Linked DNA regions of Homo sapiens: region 2 is linked to region 1. The links are contacts of gene promoters, found by promoter capture Hi-C in blood cells and fetal thymus (Javierre and others, 2016). All regions are on one chromosome and are shown on one strand. The core of a region is centred on a gene start or on the middle of the fragment in contact, and the rest is flanking DNA. Distances in the headings are between cores, read along the strand shown. Region 1 holds the start of GATD3 (glutamine amidotransferase class 1 domain containing 3). Region 2 holds the start of LINC02575 (long intergenic non-protein coding RNA 2575).

Evidence for each region. Contacts are between HindIII fragments. The CHiCAGO score rates a contact against its expected background, and 5 or more counts as called.
Region 2: a contact is called between a fragment that was not itself captured here and the fragment with the promoter of GATD3 in region 1, in 10 of 17 cell types (naive CD8 T cells, naive B cells, total CD8 T cells and 7 more). The highest score is 9.5, in naive CD8 T cells.

Annotation. Positions count from the first base shown.
Region 1 is chr21:44,131,032-44,138,210 of GRCh38, forward strand. GATD3 (glutamine amidotransferase class 1 domain containing 3) reads left to right here and starts at 2,652. Exons shown (of 7, transcript NM_004649.8): 1 at 2,652-2,807; 2 at 3,071-3,123; 3 at 5,029-5,142; 4 at 6,146-6,265. The coding sequence starts at 2,667. It overlaps PWP2 (PWP2 small subunit processome component), which reads left to right. Exons shown (of 21, transcript NM_005049.3): 21 at 1-150. RefSeq lists enhancers at 2,152-2,679, 2,680-3,207, 3,208-3,735 and a silencer at 7,028-7,177. The HindIII fragment of the contact is 13,325 bases long and covers 1,310-7,179 here.
Region 2 is chr21:44,482,107-44,489,285 of GRCh38, forward strand. It overlaps LINC02575 (long intergenic non-protein coding RNA 2575), which reads left to right and starts at 3,465. Exons shown (of 2, transcript NR_155204.1): 1 at 3,465-4,124. LOC124905037 (a long non-coding RNA gene) reads left to right here and starts at 895. Exons shown (of 2, transcript XR_007067904.1): 1 at 895-1,329; 2 at 2,328-2,593. The HindIII fragment of the contact is 3,872 bases long and covers 2,138-6,009 here.

The DNA.
Region 1 (7,179 bases), core at 1,402-3,901:
CTCAGAGAGGTATTCACATGAACTTTGTATGAGACTTATTTATATCTTTAACATAAAGGTTTGATAAAGAACTTAGGGATTAAAAAAAAGATGGAGTTTTCTAACGTGAGGATGAAGTCTACACTTCAGATTAAAAAGGGTTATGTTGTATCCTGCTGTCTTGTGGGGGCTCAAGACCTGCCTGCCTTACCACCAGGGCCTCCGTCCTGGGGAAGCAGGCTGACAGAGCAGGGTGCTCCTGCTGTCTAGCGGGGGCTCTGCCTTGTGACCTGTGCATATCCTTGGGGTCAGGGGCACAGAGCCTCTCCCTGACCTCTTGGGGATGCTTTGGAGTCTGGGGCTGGGATTGGCCTGTCTTGGTGAGCTCACTCAGACCTGCACCAGCTCTGCGTGGGCCACACGGAGGAGGAGACAGCTCCTCCCCTCTGCAGTGCCCTTGGGAATAGTCATCATGAGAGAGGCTTGGGTCTCCATCATGGTAGGGCATCCTGGTCCCCACAGCTCAGTAACAGCAGCCTCCAGGGTCAGGACCTGAGGCTGACACTGAGGTGGGCACTTCACCGACTGCCAGTGCTGTCTGCCAGGCCCAGCCTGTCCCTCGCCAGCGGTGTGGCCCCCAAGACCCTGGGTAGTACCTGGCTCCCTTGCTTATCTGGGAAGTGGAGCTGATATCTGCCTGCCGGCCTCCCGGGGGTGGCGTGAGGCCAGATGTGCTAGAGAGTGGAGATGAATACGACAGGCAGTGCCTTGTGGCCCACAGCACTGTACCTGCAGGCCTGCAGACCAGAGGTCTTTGTAGAAGGGAGGAGCTCAGGCCCTGATGACACCAGGTGTTCTGTGGCTGCACAATCTCCGTGACCCAGACGAGAGAGAATCCTTAGCTATCGCCTACCCAAAGCACAAGTTCCAGTGTTCCCCTCCCTTGCCTCGCCCTTTTCCGTGAAACAATTTCCAGCGTTCCCCCTCCTCGCCTCACCCTTTTCTGTGTCACATGTGCATGGCGATGGACACCTGAGTAGTCGCCCCTGGGACAACTGGAGCTGCGGCTCTGCAGTGGGGTCTGGGAGCTCCCGGCCAGGGGCAGCTCCCGCACACTTGGTAGAGACAGGGTCCTGGCCCCCACACCGACTGAGTGAGAGTCTGCATTCGGCATTTCCTTTCTGAGTGGCGCTTGGTGTTTTTTTGTGCCATCCCACAACCCCATCGCTCCCACCAGCTGATGCTCCCTGGCTGGCCGCTCCCCAGGAGCTGAGAAGCCTGAAGAGGGCCAGGCACGGAGGAGCAGGAACGAGGACAGTCAAATGTGCCAAGCTTGTCTTTGGTTGTAACTGGTAATGTCCCATGTCTGTTATTCTAGTTCCCCACTATCTTGCAAGGATTGGCAGTAAAGTCCTAGTGATGGACAACGCGGCAGTGGGGAAAGTGACAGCCGTGGCTAGATCATCAGATGTGTCTGTAGAATCCGGTGTGTCCCTGTGAACATCCGCCAGCAGTAACCATTCACATTATTTCAAAAACCTGCATTATTAGGTTGAAAATGGGTAAATCGGGGAAAAAGCCAGCACTTATCCAGCTATTCCTCTGTGAACTAACCCATGCATAACAAACAGATTTTTTTAATGGAAGAATTCCAGCTAGGACCCGAGCAGCTGGGATCTTCACACTGACCGTCCATGCTGTGAACGTAAAAAACAAAAACAAAAAAACAAACCCAAACAGCGCCCGGGAATGGTGGCTCACGCCTGTAATCCCAGCACTTTGGGAGTCCGAGGCGGGCAGATCACCTGAGCTCGGGAGTTCAAGACCAGCCAGACCAACATGGAGAAACCCCGTCTCTACTAAAAATACAAAATTAGCCTGGCGTGGTGGCGCATGCCTGTAGTCCCAGCTACTTGGGAGGCTGAGGCAGAAGAGTCGCTTGAACCTGGGAGGCGGAGGTTGCGTTGAGCCGACTTCGCGCCATTGCACTCCAGCCCGGGCAACAAGAGGGAAACTCCGTCTCAAAAAAAAAAAAAAAAAAACCCAAACAGAATCGGCGGCTCACTTGCCCCCAGACTAACCCAGATCAAGCCCCTGGGTGGAACTGCAGTTTCCAGGATACAACATCCCGGGGTCAGTAAAACCCGGAGGGGTCGCTCCGTGGGAGCCGGAGCCGCGAGGAGACAGTCATGGAAGCGGAGGGGTAGTCCTGACCCCGCGTGGGTCCTGACGCCGAGATTAAGACGAGTGGCCATTTAGGAGGATGTGGACCCTGGACGCTCGTGGTGAGTTAAGGATGAGACGGAGGTAAGGTAAGAAGCGCCGGACTGAGCCGCCCCGAGGCAGCCTTGCTCTGCGGATGGCGGAAAGGGTGCGCCGCCTGTGGAGGCGTCCGATGGGGGCGGGGCTGGGGACCCCGGGAGTCACCAGCATCCCTCAGCCTCGAGCACGAGCCCTCAGCCACCACCGGAAGGAAGACAGGGTTCCCGGAACTCTATTCGGAGGCTCTGCGCAGGCGCGGCCCCCGCCCACCGGCGAACTCACTGGATAGGGCTGAGACGGGGGCGGGTCTTGGCTCCGCCCAGAAGGCTGCGCAGGCGCAGTCCCGACGAGCAACGCGTTTGTAGAGGGGTGGGTGCGCACGCTCTGTCCCTGCGTGACCTTCCGACCCCGCTGTCCTCACCGCAATGGCGGCTGTGAGGGTCCTGGTGGCCTCGAGGCTCGCTGCGGCATCTGCATTCACGTCCCTGTCCCCCGGCGGTCGGACGCCTTCCCAGCGCGCAGCCCTTCACCTCTCCGTGCCGCGCCCCGCGGCCAGGGTCGCGCTGGTGAGTGGACGGAGGGGGTGAGGTCAGCTCCCGCCTCCAGAGATCAGCCTTCGCTGTTCTCTGCCCAAGGTCGGCCCCTCTTCCTAGGTCCGCTCCCGCCGCCCCACGTCGGCTCCTTCACCCCAAGTCAGCTCCTGCGGCCCAGGTCGGCCCCATTTTCCCGGGTCAGCGCCCGCGGCCCAGGTCGGCCCCTTTCCCCCCAGTCAACTCCCGCCGCCCAGGTCGGCCCCTTTCCCCCGGGTCAGCTCCCGCTCCTCTCGCAGGTGCTGTCTGGATGCGGAGTCTACGATGGGACCGAGATCCACGAGGCCTCGGCGTAAGTCCTCAGGGGCAGCTGGTCCTCCACCCCGGGGGCCTCGAGAAGGCCTCTCCACCAGTGAAGTTTACTCTTTTTTGAACAGCTTAGAGAAAGCATGTATTTTATTTTATTTTTACTTTTTGTCTTTTGAGACAGCGCCCAGTCTGGAGTGCAATGGCGCGATCTTGGCTCACTGCGGCCTCCGCCTCCTGGGTTCAAGCGATTCTCCTGCCTCAGCCTTCCGAGTAGCTGGGACTACAAGCATGCACCACCACACCCAACTAATTTGTGTATTTTTGGTAGATACGGAGTTTCACCATGTTGGCCAGGCTGGTCTCAAACTCCTGACCTCAAGTGATCCTCCCGCTTTGGCCTCCCAAAGTGCTGGGATTACAGGCATGAGCCACTGCACCCGGCCGAGAGAGCTTGTATTTTAAATACCCTATTCTTGGCTAAAAAAAAGCAAAAACGACTTGCAAAACCCAGGGAGACGCTAAGAAAGAACAGTTTTTAAGTGTCGCTTATGCTGTCACCTAGAGCCTAGAAATGACTTAGCATTTCACTTGAGTGTTTTTCAGGACACACACATTTTGAAAACACTGAGATCACACTCACCCGTGTTTTGCAAATGTTTCTGACGCATGGGAAGTAATTCCCATTCATTCAGTTCTCAACATCATTTTAACAGTTGCGTGGTATTTCTGGGTCCTAGACAGGTTACTGTTTACGTAACTGGTCAGCTGTTGCTGAGTGCTTGGTGGCCTGATTTCCTGTGCTACTGGAAATGACTGCAGGCCGAACCAGTAGGGCAGGAGGCCACCACGCGTGCCAGGTACCTGTAGTTCCCATGTGGTTCAGGGTGAACTGGAGAGGGGAGAGCTGGGTGGTGGCGAAAGGGGTGTCAGGCCATGGAGAGTGGCCTGAGGCTGGTGGCTTTGTGGGTGGCCCACCTTGGCTGGTTGGAGTTGGCACTAGGCAGAGTGAGCTGGGGGAAAGGGCCAGGATGTGTTTCATGATTTGGCCTTGGTGGGATAGAAAATAGCCCCAGAATAGCTTGAGCCCTCCCAGGCAGAACGGCAGGGTCTTGTGTCTGGGGTGTCTGGGTGGATTTCTTATGGGTAGCGGAACCCAAGTGCCAGGGCCAGGTGCTGACCTCTCCCTCTGGCAAGTCACTGCACTTCATGCCTCGGTTTCCTCCTCCACGTAAGGGGCAGTGAGGGCTTAGTGTGTGGGTGGGCTTAGCCACCTATCTCCTGTTGGCACTGGGAGTTGCGGATGCCAGCGTGAGCCCCCATAATGTCAGCTGTTGTCCCCAGGAGGAGCTTCTGTTGCCCTTGCCCTTGGGGAGATGGAGCTGCCTGGCCTGTGGTGTTGTCCTGGGGTCTCTTGTGTCTCTCCCACCATCTGTGATGGGAAAGTTGAGGGAGACTAGAAATTGAACTAAGTAGTGACCGAAAGCCCCGTCACACCGTCTGTGCACGTGGCACTCTGAGCACACTGCTGCTTCTCACTCTTGGTGCTTGCAGCAAGCAACTGGAGGAGGGCAGCCAGGCCCTGGGTGTAGGTAGAGCACTCAGCAGCCGGGGACCCGCACGCCTCCAGGCTGTGCCCTCAGTGGAGTCACCCGGCCCCCATACCCCAGTTTGCAAAGGGAGCTGTTGGGACCAGCTGATCTCCATAGCCCACTTCTGAGGGTTTGTCATAGTCGTAACCCACCAACCGACAGTGAATTGGAATGGGGGTGTGGGGGACGTTTGGCTTGGTATGGAACCAACTGTAACTTTTTGCAGAGCAAGTAAGATATTAATATACATTAGGAATTTGCTCCTGGTACTTAGCTAAAATCCTGTTTTTAAAAATGTGTTAACACAAATCTGAGTGGGGCACGTTTTGAAGAGTTGTCTCTGGTTTTCCCCCGTGCAGGATCCTGGTGCACCTGAGCCGTGGAGGGGCTGAAGTCCAGATCTTTGCTCCTGACGTCCCTCAGATGCACGTGATTGACCACACCAAGGGGCAGCCGTCCGAAGGCGAGAGCAGGTGTGGGGGTGGGATTGGAACTTGCTTCTTGTCTACCTCCCACGGTGCAGCCTTTTTTTGCTGGCTTAGCTTAAACCAAGTCTTGTGTGCAAATGAACGTCCTTCTGAGCAGCTGTGCTCGGGCTGTTCCAGAAGTAATGCTGCCAAGGCTCAGGAGTGCCTTCCTTCCAGTACTCACAGAAGGACTGAAAATGGCGACCGGATCGCTTCCCACTGAGTCAGGCTGCTCATACCTTGGTCTTAAGCAAAGGTGGTGGTTCTCAGCTTGGTCGCCCACCTTCTTCCCCTGTCTGGGCTCCAGATCTGTTTTGCTGGTTCCCAGCAGCATGTCTGTTACTGCGGTGTGTGTGGTTCTGGCCTGTGTGGCCTGAGATCCCCTTCCCTTGCCTGTCCTGCCTGACAGCCCTGTGCAGGCCATTCCAAGGTGCCTTCCAACTGGCCTCGGACCACGAGAGGTCGGAGCTGGAGATTCGAGGAAGAAGCCATAGCTGCCTCCTGGGGCTGTGCTTCTCACCAGTGGGGACCCCTGTGATTTCTTTTCCTGCCTGGGACCCTGGCTTCTGCACCTGGACTTGCACCTTCGGCCCCCACACCTGGGGGCTAGCAGCTTCCTGCGGTGGCTGGCCTTCGGGTTGCTTCACTGGTCCTGAGTCCTGGCTTCTTACCTTCCCCTCTGAGTCCCACCGTCCTGATGAGTGCACAGAATTCTGTCTGCTTTAGACACTCGGAGAGACTTCCATTTCCCATGGGCCTTGACTGCAGAAGATTCAGAGTGATTTGGCGCAGGTTCTGAAGTGCTGATCGGAAGAGCCCAGCATAGATTTAGCGTTGCTAGAACCATGTTGTCTTTCCAGGTAGTGACCAAACATGCTGACCTGGAAGTAAGTCCCCGTGTGGCTGAGAGCCACGTGTGTGGAGCGTGTTGCCTGTGGGCTGTGCCCCTGCCGCGCTCCACAGTCCTTCACCTGCATGCTGAGGCTTTTTGCCCTGTGCTCTTTCCCAGGAATGTTTTGACCGAGTCTGCGAGGATCGCCCGTGGCAAAATCACAGACCTGGCCAACCTCAGTGCAGCCAACCATGATGCTGCCATCTTTCCAGGAGGCTTTGGAGCGGCTAAAAACCTGTGCGTATTTGAGCTCCAAGGTCTTCCGCTTTCCATGTGGAGCAGATGGGAAGGGGGTGCACCTGTCTGCTGTCCAATGTGGTCAGTGGAGCGGCGATGGGAGGGGGTGGTGATAGGAGCAGTCTCTGGGTTTAGGGTCTGGGCAGGGCACGTGCCTGCCCTCTGACTTGGGAGCTGTTCTTAGGGTTGGGTCTTAGGTAGCGTTGTAGCGAGCCATGCTTTTGTTTCTGCTTCTCTGCTGCCTCTTCTCTCAGCATTCCTGGTACCCAGCAGCTTGTCAGAGTGGGTTTGGGGCTCCCTCTTATCTCATCACTGTGCTGTAGGTCTCGTCACGTTGAAATCAGTCTCTGAGTATTTACTCCTTGCAAGTGCCAGTTTTTTTTCTCTCTCTCTCTCTTTTTTTTTTTTTTTTTCTGTAGAGATGAGGTCTTGGTCTGTTGCCCAGGCAGGGATGCAGTGGCACGATCCTAGTTCACTGCAGCCATGATCTCCTGGGCTCAAGCCATCCTCCAGCCTCATCCTCCTGAGTAGCCGAGACTATAGGCGCATGTCACCATGCCCATGGTTTTGTTTTTTTTTTTTTTTGGCCATGTATGTAGCCCAAATTGGTCTGGAACTTCTGGGCTCGAGTAACCCTCCTGCCTCCCAAAGTGCTGGGATTCCAGGCCTGAGCCACCGCGCCTGGCCCCAATTCTCTTATGGAACCTTGCAGGATCAGAAATGGGTTTCCTTCTTGGTAGTTTGGGCGGCGGTCCTGACAGGAAGAAGGGAGGCCGCCTTGGCGTGGCTGTTTTGGTAGCTGGACCGTGAATCATGGAGGCCTGGCTGGCTCCCACACGGTGGCGTCCTTGAGTTCCAGATCCTCTTTCTGTTCTCTGTGTCTCCTCTCTCTCTTTGCACATTCATGGAGGTTC
Region 2 (7,179 bases), core at 2,824-5,323, 350 kb after region 1:
GACACATGAGGATTATGGGGATTATGGGGCTTACAATTCAAGATGAGACACAGCTGCTTCTTCCTTTGTTCTTCCTTTCCACACTTCTGGGGTTAATAAGCGCTGTGCTTTGTTATATAGCTGATAAAACAGTCAAAGGCCTAAGCTATTGTCAAAAACAGTATAATGCCACTAGCTTTTGAGTGTGTATGTCAAAATCTGTTTTTCTGTATCTAACTTTTCTTACTTCCTTTTGCAAAGGGAACCTGCTTAGCCTGATAGTGATAGTGATAGTGTCATACTTACGGGAAGCCAGCTCCCTCGACTTTTTCGTTTTTATCCCTCTATTTTTCTCGGGCTGGAGGGCATTGACACATTCATTTATTTATTTCTCAGAAAAGGCAACAGAGGTTCAGGGAGGCTAATGACTTGCCCAAGTTCACATTGCTAACCTACAACAGGGCTGAAGGGGATCATGTCTACGGTGGTCCATTTCCAAGACAAAGTGCCTTGAATCGGCTTAGGTCTGCAAAATACAGAAGAAACAGGATATCCCAGGCCCCTGCTCAGACAGCCGATGCCTGCTTATCGGGATCCCCCTTAGTTGCCCTCACCTGAACCAAAGAAGTTTAGTCTAAGATAAAAGTTTACCAGTCTGCAAAATAGCTGGCTTTGTCTGTTCTTATCAGCCTGCCAGCTACGTAGGTCATAAGTCAAATATTTAAAGAGCCCCAGGGCTAACTAGGATTGCAATGCACTGTGGGCTGCAACAAAATGCAGCAAGACAACCCTAAAAAGACACCTACAGCCCCTGCCCAACAACCAATAGGTGACATCTGGGAAGACTGTGACCCCATAGTGCTCAGCCTATGAGGAACTGGGGGAGGGACCTGCACACTAAGGGATAAAGTGCTTGTTAAAACCATGCTGGAGGCTGGTGCAGTGGCTCACGCCTGTAATCCCAGCACTTTAGGAGGCCGACGTGAGGCAGGCGGATCACTTGGGGTCAGGAGTTTGACACCAGCCTGGCCAACCTGGTAAAACCCCATCTCTATTGAAAACACGAAAATTAGCCAGGCGTGGTGGTGAGTGCCTGTGATCCCAGCTACTCAGGAGGCTGAGGCAGGAGGATCACTTGGACTCGGGAGGCAGAGTTACAGTGAGCCGAGATCCTGCCACCGCACTCCAGCCTGGGCGACAGAGAAAGACCCCATCTCAAAACAACAGCAACAACAACAAAACCGGGCTGGGCGTGCCTTCCCATCGGACACCCGACCTCGCAAGACTGTCATTAAAAGTCTCACTCTCGCTGTTCTCTGGGTTGTGAGTCCATTCTCTGGGTGTGGACAGGTGAGTTTGTTTCTCACAAGGTCCAGGACTTGAACTCAGGCCATGAGACCGGGCCAGGGTTGTGAGCAAAAGTGCAGCTCGTTGCGGTGCCTCCCTCGGCACCAGTGGGAGGGGAGAGGACCCTGGGGCTCGTCAGCCTGGACACGCCAGCGCTCTCAGCCGTCTCACTCAGTCCCACGAGCCCACACAGTGGCTGCCCTCAAAGGGACTTTGGAGACCACCCAGTCTTTCTTCCCAGTTTACAGACCCAGAGACTCGGGCCCAGAGAAGACAAGTGACTTTGAACAAAGCAAATTAGTGGCAATGCCCAGACTTGAACCGAGATTGGCAGAGCTTGGTGGTCTGCCACAAACCACCCTCCCCCACAGCAGGTGCGGGTGGGGGGCTCCGTTCTTCCGGTCACCACAGCATGTTACAGGTTTCTGCATCAGTGCGCCTCCTCTTAGGAAGAAACATCTCTGGGCTGGGATGGCTAGCTCCCCGCTTTCAGCCATGTAGAATTTCTCTTGGCATTTTAGTTAGAAGTGTTGTCTAGATTTCTTAAGTGTCTGAGGCTGCCCTGGCCACAGGGATGAGTTAGGGAAAATTACCGTTTCCCATGTGCGTGTGTGAAGCTCTCCATGCTCACTGAAGTCAGAGTGAGAAGCAGCAAACACGTCATCGGGAGGGTGGCCAGCAAGGCTGTGTCCTTTCACACGTCCTCAGATCATCCTTGAATCCACCCACATTCCAAATTCATTCTCAAAAATGAGATTCCAAATTTCAGGATCTATTTACAGCCAGACGATTTTGGTGCCCCCTGCTCAAAAGCTTTGATTACTCCTGTGCTTAATTAAGTCACAAATCCCTGGCCCATCATCCAAGACCACTTGTGATGTGGTTAAACCTACCTCTGTGAGTGCTAGTAAATCTACCTCTACTAGTACTAGTAAATCTACCTCTGCTAGCGCTAGTAAATTTACCTCTACCAGTACTGCCCCCCACTGTTTCCTTTTCAGGCATTCAGCTCAGTCTACGGCCCGCAGACAGATTTCCTAGAAATAACTGCTCCTACTTCTCAACTCTTAACAAAAAGGTCTCTGAAAAGGAATTTGGAGGAAACAGACTATTCCAGTGAATAGTGTACAAGCCTGGGAGATGCGGACTTTGGTGTAAAATGAAGGTGTGTTCAAAGAGCAAAGAAGGAGTTCGGGTTTTAGAGCAAAAAGCTCCTGCCCTGGGGTCCCCATTAGGTCCATGTAGGCAAATGAAGGATTGAAACGTGCTTAGTTCTGATTGGTTGGTACAGCTGGGCCCTGATGGGTTGGTTTCCAAGCCGCGAACCGGAAGTCTTTGTTAGCTGTTTCTTTCAAACAGTGGTGGGGGGCGTGAGGGGCGTGCGGGGCGTCGGGGGCGTGAGGGGCGTGCGGGGCGTGAGGGGCGTGAGGGGCGTGCGGGCGTGAGGGGCGTGAGGGGCGTGAGGGGCGTGAGGGGCGTGCGGGGCGTGAGGGGCGTGCGGGCGTGAGGGGCGTGCGGGGCGTGCGGGGCGTGCGGGGCGTGGGGGGCGTGCGGGCGGGGAGGAGGGTGGGGGCCGCTCTGGCTACAGTTTATCTTGGCACTAACAACGGGGACTGATTGGGCTTCGTTGTGAAAAGGGGGGCCCTGTGGTGCGTTTACAGAGTCTGAGAACACAGAGTTCGTGGCCACTCCCTCACCCAGCCCTGGGCACCAGGTTATGTTTTAAATTTGAGCACCTCAGCCATGGGGAACCCCTTTTGTTTGTCAGCCAGGGCATAGTTTACCAATCCCAAATCTGTAATCTCTCTCTTAACAAATCACTTTCTACCCAAATACAGATCCTTAAGGGCAGGGCCTCTGGTTCATTTTTGTCATCTCCACCTAGCGGAGAGCGCGGCACACGGCAATGATACGGGAGTGCGGGGGAAGGGAAGAGTGTGGTCCCTTTAAATGATACAGAAGGGAGGTGCTGGGTAGAGGGGGGCGTGGTCCCCGGCTAGGGCTCCACCCCCCCGGACCTGGGTGAGGACAGGCACTTCTGCCTTCTTGCCCCAATGTTGCATTTTCCAAGACCACCCTGGCCCGCCATGCCCCCATTCTGAGCCTATAAAAACCCGAGACCCTAGCAGGGCAGAGGCAGAAACTGCTGGATGCTGAGAGGAACGCATCAGTGGAAGAAAACAAGCGGCTGGACGTGGAGAGGACGTCAAGGGAGCATGCCGGCGGAAGAGCACACCACAGACGCCGGCAGGCCACCGAGCGGCAGGACCAGGCGGAGTTTGGCCGGGGCAGTCGGAGGAGAGCTAGGCCACTAAGCAGCTCAACTCCAGGAGATAAACCATCTCCCTTGTGGCTCCTCCGTCGGCTGAGAGCTGCTTCCACTCAATAACACTTTGCACTCGTTCTCCAAGCCCCCGTGTGATCCGATTCTTCTGGTACACCCAGGCAAGAACCCAGGATACAGAAAGGCCTCGGTCCTTTCCACAAGTACCTCTACTTGAGGTACTCATTGACCTGGTTAACACAAGCTGCCTACAGACGCCAAAACTAAGGGCACCCTGGAACACAGGCTTCAGCTGTAAACATTCACCCCTGGGCACTGCCGTGGGGTGGGAGCCTGCCTGAGTGTATGCTCCCCTAGAGGTTTGAGCTGCGGGGCACTGAAGAAGTGAGCCACACTCCCATCGCACACTGCGAGGGGGACAAAGGAACTTTTCCTCTTTTAACTGGGGCCTCATCTGGAATCTCGGAAGGTGAATGTCTGCCTTCGAAAACCCTACCACCTGTCTTTCTTGTGGGTAAGAGGCTGTTTTCCTTTCATCTCTTTTTTCTCTCTCACACGGTTTAAAAATGGCTCTTATCTCCTTTATAATGTTAAGAGTTTTGCTACAGGCTGCGGCAATGTTACTAAGTAGAATGAGTATTTGGCTCAGCCGCCAAAGGTGCAAATCAGACCAATTTTTCCTAGAGGTGCCATGTATGCCTCTACCTCGAGAGCCGCAGGCACACACGGCTCTGGGCACCTCTCCTTATTCTTCCCCTTCCCAGCTCGGGCACCTGGGCGTGCCCACGGCAGGCAAAGGCCAAGCCCAACAGCCACGAACCGGGCGGGAGGAAGCCGAGGGGGTAGCCGGGACCCTACAGGGAGCGCGTTGGTCAAGTGTGCCAAGGGAACCTTTCCTCCCCTGGCCAAGGAATTCAACCTGGTCTGAACTGGGGAAAGGATGGGAAAGTTATAAGAATTAGAGGGACGCAGTTGCACTAAGCAAGGGGTTCTTCCCCCAGAATCTCCCCCCTTTTTGCCCCTTAAACTGTTTTTCTCCTTTTTCCTTTTTTTTATTATTATTATACTTTAAGTTTTAGGGTACATGTGCACAATGTGCAGGTTAGTTACATATGTATACATGTGCCATGCTGGTGCACTGCACCCACTAACTCATCATCTAGCATTAGGTATATCTCCCAATGCTATCCCCCCCTCCCCCCACCCCACAACAGTCCCCAGAGTGTGATGTTCCCCTTCCTGTGTCCATGTGTTCTCATTGTTCAGTTCCCACCTGAGTGAGAATATGTGGTGTTTGGTTTTTTGTTCTTGCGATAGTTTACTGAGAATGATGATTTCCAATTTCATCCATGTCCCTACAAAGGACATGAACTCATCATTTTTTATGGCTGCATAGTATTCCATGGTGTATATGTGCCACATTTTCTTAATCCAGTCTATCATTGTTGGACATTTGGGTTGGTTCCAAGTCTTTGCTATTGTGAATAGTGCCACAATAAACATACGTGTGCATGTGTCTTTATAGCAGCATGATTTATAGTCCTTTGGGTATATACCCAGTAATGGGATGGCTGGGTCAAATGGTATTTCCAGTTCTAGATCCCTGAGGAATCGCCACACTGACTTCCACAATGGTTGAACTAGTTTACAGTCCCACCAACAGTGTAAAAGTGTTCCTATTTCTCCACATCCTCTCCAGCACCTGTTGTTTCCTGACTTTTTAATGATTGCCATTCTAACTGGTGTGAGATGGTATCTCATTGCGGTTTTGATTTGCATTTCTCTGATGGTCGGTGATGGTGAGCATTTTTTCATGTGTTTTTTTGGCTGCATAAATATCTTCTTTTGAGAAGTGTCTGTTCATGTCCTTTGCCCACTCTTTGATGGGGTTGTTTTTTTCTTGTACATTTGTTTGAGTTCATTGTAGATTCTGGATATTAGCTCTTTGTCAGATGAGTAGGTTGTGAAAATTTTCTCCCATTTTGTAGGTTGCCTGTTCCCTCTGATGGTAGTTTCTTTTGCTGTGCAGAAGCTCTTTAGCTTAATTAGATCCCATTTGTCAATTTTGGCTTTTGTTGCCATTGCTTTTGGTGTTTTAGACATGAAGTCCTTGCCCATGCCTATGTCCTGAATGGTAGGGCCTAGGTTTTCTTCTAGGGTTTTTATGGTTTTAGGTCTAACGTTTAAGTCTTTAATCCATCTTGAATTGATTTTTGTATCTTTTTTCCTTTTCTAAGTGAGAGGGCTCCCCTCCCAACTCTGTTTCTGATGGGGAAGTTAGCAGAGGACCAGCGACCCCTGCTGGCGGAGAGCTGCAAATTTGGCAGGGCACATTTGAGACACTCTCAACAGATAGAACCAGCCTCTAAAATATCTTTTCAGTCCCAAACTCGATTCCAAGCTTCAGGCTGAGGTCTTAGAAAGAAAAAACAGGTCTGAGGGATCCAAAGCCAGGGAACAGGCACAATGTAAATGGGTAGCACCAATTCCTGCTGACTAAACCCCCCACCCTATGGAAGGAGGCCATGCTTCATGGCATAAACAGGCCCAGGGAACTGAAGGTTTGCCGACAGCAGGGAGAAAGGGAGGCATAGGCAAGGGCGGTTCGTTCCTAGTCTCCAGGTTTTCCCTGCTTCATGGGTACATACCACATTAGTACCCATGGCTGGCACCTGCCAAGGTCGCCAGGGCTCAGGGATAAGGAGTGGAGACTGAAAGGATCATGCTCGCTTTCTCTCTCCATCACACCCTGAGTTTTCGCTGAAAGAAGGAAGAGAATGAGGGGCTTCTCTATTCACTGTCTCCAGTTCTCTTCAACACCCCCAGTTTATACTCCTCTGTAGTGTACCCTGAACCATCGGGACTGCTTTGACCCTCAGAATCTGCAGGAGAAACACCTCAGAGCCCTCTGCACAAAGGTTTGGCCAAATTATGAAGGACTGGGTTGGCCCTAGGAAGGAATCATTCATTTCCATACCATTCGGCTGTTGAGACTTTTCTGTAGATGTGAGGACAGATGGCCTGAGGCCCCGTATGTGCAGGGCCTTTCTATACCTTGCAAGGAAATCCAGACCTTGCCGACAGTGTAGGATTCATCCAGCCCTCCTGTTTGCCATCTCAGAGAAGGCTGCAAGGGGTAAGCCCAGGGAATTAAAGATACGAGTCCTAGAGGCACCCCGGAAAGAGAGGCCAGCTCCCTCAAGCCCTGCTCCTCTGGGTCCACCCCGACCTCCCTATCCAGCTTCAGCCTCTCACTTGGCCCCTCCTACAAATTCTCACTCTAAACAAGCCCCAGTCTCACTCTTGCTCCTCCAACAGATGCCTGGTGAATTTGGGCCAGCAAGGTCCAGGTCCCCTTCTCCTTACAGGACTTAAAGTAAATTAAGGGGGGATCTGGGCAAGTTTTCAGATGATCCTCATAGGTATATAGAGGCTTTCTAGAATTTCAACCAAATAGTTGAACTCTCCTGGAGAGAGACGTTATGTTACTTTTGAATCAGACTGTGATAGACACTGAGAAACAGGCCACTCTACAAGCTGCAGAGAGATTTGGGGATGAGCTTTGCATC